Linked DNA regions of Homo sapiens: regions 1 and 2 are each linked to region 3. The links are contacts of gene promoters, found by promoter capture Hi-C in blood cells and fetal thymus (Javierre and others, 2016). All regions are on one chromosome and are shown on one strand. The core of a region is centred on a gene start or on the middle of the fragment in contact, and the rest is flanking DNA. Distances in the headings are between cores, read along the strand shown.

Region 1 (3,013 bases), core at 68-2,567, 130 kb before region 3:
GTGATATGCCCAGCACTCAGAGTGTGATCAGGGGTCAGTGAGAGAGGGCTCAGCCAGACGCTGTGTCTGGGGTGAGAATGTGTCTACACACTGAGGCTGGTGTCTTTGGAAAGAGAGGGCTGGGTTGGGGGTCAGAGCAGCCCATCAGGGAGCTTGTCTGGCACTACTGGGCAGAAGTCTGTGCCCACAGAGGGACTGACGCCCTGCTATGAGAACTGACATTGGAGAGCTGCTCTGCAAGTAGGGAATCTGAGGAGGGCAAGGGAGTTGGGGGGTTCTCAAAGCTCAGGGCTTCCCATGATATCCCCCTGGGATGAAAACAAATGGGTCACACTGCAGTGATGGCCCAAGTCAGTGTGGGTTGGTTGGCACAAGACAGAGCTTCCTGGACCACTAGCTAGGCTGCGTGTCCCACAGTGGGATTCTGGGCAGGGCTGTCTGGCACTCTGGTGCCTAGCACAAGGCATGGCACACAGTAGGTGGGCTCAAGGCCATGACCTATCTCTCTAGGCCCTTCAAACCAGTGCAGTAGCATACCCTTGGTTTTCCAGACATGAGATGCCACAAACACCCGTCCTCACCTTTCTCCCTGAGTCTTGGAGCTTGGAGAGAAGAGGCAGTCACAGGGAATTAATGGGCTTACCATAAGCAGGCTAACAAACACCCTTCCTGAAAGCAGGAGGCCATAACATTTCAGTTGTTGGAGAACTGGGTTTTAGTTCCTATTACAGGTTTCCCTTAATCTCAGGCGCTATTTCTCACACTGACTTGAACTCGATAAGACACTCATAAACCCATCAGCACCCTCTCAAACAGGATTCTGGTGCTTTGTAGTGATAGAAATTAAATTTCTCAAATTCTTGTCAAGCTGGTGTTAGTTTTCTTATGTCAGAAACACACTAATGGAACACATTCCTACTTGGATATTTGCCATTTTTCAAATGATGCCATTGGTGAAAAAAACCCTGTCAAAAGCTCAGTAACCTGCCTGCACATCAATATTTTTGACTGAGCCTCGGAGGGCAAACTCAGGCTCAGGGGCCTGCTTGGGAATGAGGGCAATTTGGAGAGAGCACAGGCCAGGCGCTTAGACACATCTCTCTAACTGCGGCCTCTTCCCACATTATTCTCCTTCTAAATTAATGTGCTTTCCTGAAACAAACCCCTCAGGTGACCTAGGTGCCACCAAAGAAGCTGGGGCATTGGAGTGACAAAGTCTATTGATCTGGTCCCATCCCTGTGACCAGAGTCACACTGTGAAGTTGGCGAGTAGGGGAGGAGCCAAGGGGGAGTGCGCATGCCCAGTGTCTCCTGAACAAACAGGGCAACATCTCCCGGACCTTGTGACTTTGGCTGGTGTTTACAGAGTGAAGCTGCTTTGGCGTATCCTGGTGAGCCGGGCAAGGCGGGTGGGAGGGATGGTGTGCTTTTTGTCTCCTCTGTTCCGTCTACCAGAGATTGTCACTCTGGGATCCTTTCAAATAACTGCTGAATGTTTGTGGATGGGAGGCTGGGGACAGGATGTCTTAAAGCCTTTCATCTTGACATTCCTGTTTAGAGCACCAGGGTGCATCCAGCCTGCACAGGTGGCTCTGTATTAGCCAGACTTGCTCCAAAGCCACACAAGAGAGCACTTGCATCTGTCCCAAATCTCCTGTTTCCTTACGTGTAACCAGATTCAATCTTCCTGCCATTGTCATTCCCTCTTGCTTGCTTCATTTTGGGGATGGCAATAAAATTACTAGTTAATTACCTGCGGGTCAGTGGGTAATTTACTTTTTCAACTGGCCTATGTTGCTTGATGTTGCTTCAACTTTTATTACAGTTTAGTTATCAAGTTCTGCTCTCTGGTGTGAACAAACACCTTTGTAAGCTGCATAAAGGCAGAGACTATATCTGTTTTATTTATGTTGTATCCCCAGCACCTAATACAATGCCTACCACGCAGAAGGGACTTAATAAGCAGTTTTAAGCAAGTGAACTATTAGGCTAGTGCTCAGTCAACAATTATTTATGGAGCTGGTACCAGGAGCCAGGATACAGTGGGAATATACTGGCAAGAAAAACAGGCCCAGTGCTTGCTAACCTGGAGCTCATGGCTTAGCAGAGAAGACAAGTGTTAAGTGGGGAGGGAGAGCAGAGGCCTGAACCTGTCTACAGACCCCAGGTTAAGGGCCCGTGACTCCTGTAAAGCCTGGTTGCCCTCTTTCTTGGTAGAGCCCTCCCTGTGTGCCTGGCAGACCTGTGTCCTGCTATCGAGACATCCTAGTCTGATGTAGTATCCTCCTTGTTTGCAGGAGGGGCCGGCCTGTGCAGGGGCAGGGTTACCTGGGCATCCCTCTAGGCTCTGGGGTTCCATTTAGCCTCCTCTGGCCAATACACCTTTTTAGTTTTGAGAAAACTAAACCTCAATGTGACTGCTGTGTGCAGACGAACAGGAAGTTAGAGCAGAACTCAGTGCCCAGGGGCTGTGAGATCACCATTCTGGGTATCATGGGGTGCCACAGTGTGGCAGGCAGGAGAGGCATCCATCAGAAGGAGCAAAGGGTCCTTGCTGAGGTGGAGAGCACAGGGCCTCCTGGTCAGCAGGAGCATGGCTGTCACAGTGCTGCATACCAGCTCTTCCACCTCCGCTGGTTCCTGTGTGTGGGGTAGCCTTGGTCAGCTTGGCCACTCTATGGGTCTCTCCCACCCTACTGAGTCTACACCCAAAGATGATGGGCATACCTCTGCTCAAGATATTTGCAAAAGGAGAGTATCCTAACTGCCTATTACTTTGGTGTCTTAAGGGGGAAAAGAATGTATTACCTTATGTAATTATACAGAGCTACTCAGAATTTACAAAAATTCATACAGATCTCTAAGGTTGGATCCAGAATCTCCTGAGCAAGTCAGTGGAGAAGAGCAAACAGTTTTTACCTAACTAGCAAGAGGGGGCCATGCTGTGTGTTTCCAAATGCCAGCTCATCTTCCAATTCCTGTGCACTCATTATGACTATTTCGTGGCCTCTCT
Region 2 (2,985 bases), core at 197-2,696, 160 kb after region 3:
TATTATATTGAATTTTAAGAATTCACTGGCTAGAATTAACATAAAAAAACTCTGAAGAAAAGGTTAATGAACTCAAAGGTAGATTGAAGCTTGAAGGGGGAAAAAAGAAGGGAAAAAACAGAAAATAAGAGTAAGAGTGTTGTGGAACATGGTTAATAGGTCTAAAATTCTAGATTGACCAATGTTTTCTCTTAGCATATTAAAGATATTCCAATGCTTTCTGATTTCTACTGGGAAATAAACTATAAGTCTCTCATAAGTAATCTGTTTTTTCTCTCTAGCTACTTTGAGGGTTATCATTTTGTCCTTAGTATTCTGCAAGTTTTTGTTGTAGATAGCCTTACGTTTCTTTTTGTTTATCCTATTTGGGATTTACTGGGCTTCCTGTATCTGAGGATAGCTGTCTTCCTTTAGTTTTGCAAACTTTTTTCAACCATTATCCCTTCCAATATTACTCTTCCTGTTTTCTCTCTTTAACCCCAATTACAAATGACTGAGTCCTCCTTATCCTAGTCTCCTTGCCTCCTAACCTTGATAGCTTTGTCTCCTCCTTGCATTCTGGTTACATTTTCAGATGTATCTTCCAGTTCTCTTCAGTTATGCCCTGTTTGCTCTGAAGTCTATCCTTTGATTTTTAAAATTTCAATTACCTTTTTTAATTTCTAGAAATTCTATTTGGTTATTTTTCAAATAATCAAGATAGTTTCTATAGGTTTATTCTTTGTTTATATTTTCAGCTCCCTTTTTATTGCTTATAACACAGCATGCACAGTTTTTTAAATGTTAATTCTATTATCTGGTCTTCATAGTTCCTTTCTGCTGGCTCTTCTTTTGGTGTTTTGCATCCTTTCATTTTTACAAATTTTAACTGGGAGCTCATATTCCTTGGATGGAAAACTGTCAAAATTATTTGAGGCCAATACTGAAGAAGAGTTCTTTTACATAGGATTTGTGTTTGCTCTACCATGTACCTAGGAACACTATCAACCAGGACTGTTTCAAGCAAAATTCTTGGCTGAGGCTTTCTCAGACTAGTCTGTTATATGAATTCTACTGAAAGCTTAGCTTGTGGTTCCTGTTCTCAGAGGAAACATTTTGGCTCCCACTCAGCATCAAGGTTTAAGGCAGGCAATTTTCTTCACACATCCTTGAGAGAAGACAGGGCATGTTTATTTTTATTTCATCCTTACACTAGAGAGGTAGCCTACTGGGGTCTGTTGGGGTCTCAGCTTTTATGTAGAGGAGGTTTTCTAACAGACTGATCTGCCCTAGGCTTGACTCCTGTCCCCATATCTCTTGAGGTCGTAACAATCAGAGTTCAAGGTCACCTGCATTGGGCAAATACTCTCAAAGCAAAAGTCTGCTTTAGAACCCAACTTTCTCTGAGTTTTTGGCCTCTTATGAATCTTTAGTTCCTGCTTTCTCACTGAGGTATTTAAAGGATTGCTTAAATGTTTTATCCATTATTTAAAATTGTTTTAAGTGGGAGAGTCAGCTAAGTTATCTAGCCTCCCATATAGCCAGAAACAATAAGCTGCATAAATAGTTCTAAAATTTTCATGTTATTAGTATCTACTCTTTCTGAAATGGTGGATAAATGTGATTACTCAGTTTTGAGGAAAGAAAATAAATTGGTCCAGTTAAATCCAAGGCTTTCTAACCCAATGCATTTCAGTAAGTATTCACCAAAGACATCCTAGTCCCCCATACTACAGGCCCACTTAGAATTAGAAGTCACAACCCCAGGCAACCCCAGCCCCAACTGTGGGTGAATAATAGCTAACAATGATGGCTAATATAGAGCCTACTCAGAAGGTGGGCCAGTGCTATGCTAAGCTTTTTAATATGCATTTAATCCATACAACTGCCATAGGAGGTAGATAGAACTATCACCACTATTTTAGATGTGAGAAAACCAAAGCACAGAAGTTTAAATAACTTGTTCAAAGTAATATAACCAGTACATTGGATCATACTCAGAATGTCTGGCTGTATAATTTTGAAAAACTACACTGAATAGTTAGAGAACACAGAAGGAGACAACTCTCAACTCAATGAGATCATATGAGTAATAAGAGTAGGATAAAGTCCCAATGTAATGGTGGCTGGAAATGTTATAGAAAGCCAACTTTTAGGTAGAATGGAGTTTGGCTTCTTTTCACTGTATGAGCGATGATTTTCTTGTCCTTTTATATAGTGTGCCATATTATGTGGTCATTGTACACTTACGATGCCTGCCCCAAGCTGGAAAGACTCATCTTGCTCCTCTCCTCCTTTAGGGAGGGAGGTTAGAGTTTCCATGCAGACCCTGTTAATCCAACTTTCTTACTATTACTTAGAACATGTTTCTAATAAACCTCCTGGGATTCATATAAGTTCTTTCATAGCAGTCAAGCAATTGGGAATGAACCATCCTAAAGACAACGGGCGAGCCACTCAAAGCAACCAACAATACCACCAGCTTTGTTTGCCTGGGTCTTGCCTCTGTTTACGATACTTGGGGGAACAGCAAGTGTGGGAGGGAGGATAAATCACAAGATAGCTTTTATAAAATGACTAATAAAGAAATAATGGGAACCCAATAACGACCAATTACAGAGGCAAGAGAAATAATAAAAATAATAAAGCAGAAAATGTACAAAGCAAACAATTAAGACTATTTTATCAAAACAATACTGCGACTCAGAAAGCATTAATTCTCACTGCACAAGGGCAGTAACTGTTTATCATCTGAATTTTGTACATTAAGAAAATGACACCAAGGGAGTTAATAAGTTCCTCCAAGCTCTAGAACACTTCGGAGCCCGGATTAAAAGTTAGCCATGCTCATGCTCCGCTGAGATGTCATCTCTCATTAAAGTCTAAATCAGCTCAGAGAACACACCACATTTATTATTTTTTATAAAATCGTGTGATTCTGGAGGAGCCAACAGTATCTTTGGGATAAACACACTGATTAAAAACATACTTTTAAAATGTCTCTTT
Region 3 (2,926 bases), core at 235-2,734:
CAGGCACGCTCAACTGTGCATCTTGTTTTGTGCCAACTGTTTCTCTAAATTAGTATATGGGCTTCTGTCAGCATGTTTTACAGAGAGAAACCACATTTCTCAGCAGTGGACTTTGCCTTCCTTTTGTATAGATTCCCCATTTCTTCAGGTCTTCCTGATACCCACAGTTGTTTACCCTGAGAACCACAAAAGTTTTTAATATGGAAAGTTTGTTCCTTTAAAATTGCTAGGAGAATGTTTATTGAGACAAGCCTGGCACATAAACGAGATCTTCATGTCACTGAAATTTGGCAGGGGGCAGAGGTGGGGACACTGGCGAGAAGGAACCCAGGCAGAAGTGGAGAGACAGAAAGGTGTGACCGAGAAATATGGACGTTTTTCTTCCTGTGCAACGAAGCCCTCACCCTGTGTTTCACGTGGCATTGGCGGGGACTTTCTTCCTTTGTAATGTGCTCACTGGGGTTGTCACGTCACATAGCCACGTGGAGACAGCCACTGAAGTTCAAAGACAAGATGGGTGTAAATGTGATTCATTTCATTAAAACAACTGGATATACAATATTTGATGTCTGCGGTAACTCTAACTTCTCCTCATTTCCCTTTAGGGGAGTGAGAGTTTTTAGGTACCTGCTGTCTGATCAGTTGCAAGTGCCAAGTCTGGTGGAGGAGGAAGGAATGCAGCCATAACATCAGCAAAGCTGCATGAAGTCTTTCCCTCTGCTGCTGCCCCTGCCCTGTACCTGGTTGTTCATGTCCCACCCACCCACTCTTCCAGGTTCAGGTCAAGCCCCACTCCCTGACAAATATCTCTCCTAATCATGGGAGTGGCCACTGACACACACTGAAAGGGGATGGGCAGGTGCCAGTACTGGTGCCGTCATTTACAAGTCCAGTAACTGGGAAAGTTATCTGGCTTCTCTTTGCCTCTCAGTAAACACCAACTAGGAAAAGGAGTGCATGAGATGACGTCCATACAGCCCCTGGCGGTGGGCTGGCAGCCTGGCACATTCTCCGTGAATGAGAATGTGTATTTCCCATGATCCTATCCACCCCACCCTGATGGCCATTCCTTCTTTTCTGCAAGGCTGTGTCCCATGGTGGCCCTTTATTGCCTTGGGGGTTGAACTTCTACCTCTATCTCTTAACAGGGCAGCTCTTCTACCTTCTTTGCCTTTTCTTGGCAACAGAATTTGGCTCTTATGCATTTCTCTCTAATTGGTTAATCACATTGTATTGACTGCAACATTAGAACCAATAGTTCAGGCCTTCCCAATTGTCCTGACCATGTCACTGGCATACTGACACACGCCCATGAACAAAGGCTTCATCACACAAGGAAGACACACTATGACCCGCTGCGGTTTTCTTCCACTTCAGTTGTAGCCCTGCATGCTTTCTGGGGAGCACACTCTAGCCACCGAGATGAAGGCACGGGGAGGCCCGACCGTAGGTCGAACACGTCAGTCAGTGGCTGATCCTTCCCATGGTCTCTGGATACACCAGTGAAGGCAGGAGGTGAAGTCTCCCAGATCACCTGGGAACAGCCATGGACACTTGTCTGGGGCTGCATGAGGTTTGTTCTGGGCTCTGATGGAATATTGCCCTCATGTATGCTTTTTAACATACCGAGTCAAGGATTATGCAGGATCTGTTGAAATTCCAATAAGTCAGTCAAGAAAATTAAGCGCACTTAACCTCATCATTTACCCTTTGCAATTTTTGGTAACTATATTTGAAAAAGTTATTTAGACACCTTCTCATTTCAAGAGCCTCTGTGCTCACCTAAGCCTTGAGTTCCTCTTTGTCAGATTCTCTGATTTCTCTGTAGAATGTGAAGGGTTCATCTTTCACTTTTTTTCCCAGCCAAGAGTACACGGATGGTGTATTATTTGAACCCTTGCCCAGCAGAAAATACTTTTTATTCTTTCCATACATGGATCACCATTTGATAAGTGTAGAATTCTTGCATCATGGTCTTACCACCCCAAAATTCTACCAATGTTCTTCATTGCCTTCTTGCTTCTTAATATCGCAGAAAAGTCCAAGAACAGAATGTTTTTTTTCCTTCCTACCAGACAGTGTCTGAGACTCACCTTTGACACAAATGTAACTGAAGGGGAGAAGCTGCCCCTGGGCAAGCCGGTCAGCTGAAACCACTCAAGAGCCCCCAGTGCAACACCAGGTAGGACTTTTTTTTTTTTTGTCTGCTTTGTTTTTCTCTCTCTGGATATTTCAGATCACTTTAATTTTTTTTTTCAAAACCTAAAATGTCAGCAATTATATTTTGACTTATTTGATAGATCTTTCAGTATAGGGCACTTATTTTTTTGGATCTCTCTTTGCTTATTGTGTCCATTTGAATTGCTCTGAGGTCTTTAAGATAACCAATCACTATTATTTTAAATCTTTTATCTCTGTCTTACATAACTATCATCCTCTCCCACAGTATTTTTTAAATCTTCTTCTCATTCTCGGTGTATTTGGGGAGCGGTTTTCAAGTTTGTTCCCTGTATTGGAACAACTATGATTTCTGTATGGTTAATCTTTCCTTTGACTGCTTGAAGTGGAGAAGGAACTTCTGCAATTGTATTTCAGGTTCTTTATATTCTTTCCTTACCTCCCCCAGCTTCCATTTTATTTTTGACTGTGGCTCAGCCAATTTACAATCCCATTTTTTATCTCATTTCAGAGTTCATGTTTTCTTGCATTGGGAGTAGAACACAGTTGCTGTCTAAAATGAGCTTCTGTTTCTTGTAATAATTTTTCCCCAAAGCATGCTCTTTTGCTGCATCTTAAGTGTGTGCTCTCCTCCTCCTCTGTTGCAGAAGCCAGCTTCCCTTTCATTCGTGTTCAGACAGGTCTGTTCAGGCTTCACCTCTGTTTACTCTCACTGCAGCCCAGTGAGATTGACCAGACTGGAATTACA

What was found. Contacts are between HindIII fragments. The CHiCAGO score rates a contact against its expected background, and 5 or more counts as called.
Region 1: the fragment with the promoter of FSTL4-AS1 here is called in contact with the fragment with the promoter of CTB-3M24.3 in region 3 in 17 of 17 cell types (neutrophils, activated CD4 T cells, fetal thymus and 14 more); the score reaches 28.1 in neutrophils.
Region 2: a fragment that was not itself captured here is called in contact with the fragment with the promoter of CTB-3M24.3 in region 3 in 1 of 17 cell types (endothelial precursors); the score reaches 5.1 in endothelial precursors.

The regions. Positions count from the first base shown.
Region 1 is chr5:133,255,128-133,258,140 of GRCh38, forward strand. FSTL4-AS1 (FSTL4 antisense RNA 1) reads left to right here and starts at 1,318. Exons shown (of 2, transcript XR_007058939.1): 1 at 1,318-1,391. All of the region lies in intron 6 of FSTL4 (follistatin like 4), which reads right to left. The HindIII fragment of the contact is 11,288 bases long and covers 1-3,013 here.
Region 2 is chr5:133,548,733-133,551,717 of GRCh38, forward strand. All of the region lies in intron 3 of FSTL4 (follistatin like 4), which reads right to left. Among named protein-coding and RNA genes, the nearest start is that of FSTL4, 62 kb to the right of the region's middle. The HindIII fragment of the contact is 776 bases long and covers 1,059-1,834 here.
Region 3 is chr5:133,386,398-133,389,323 of GRCh38, forward strand. It overlaps CTB-3M24.3 (a long non-coding RNA gene), which reads left to right and starts at 1,485. Exons shown (of 3, transcript XR_948794.4): 1 at 1,485-1,573; 2 at 2,076-2,182. The region is part of intron 4 of FSTL4 (follistatin like 4); the gene reads right to left. The HindIII fragment of the contact is 3,410 bases long and covers 1-2,926 here.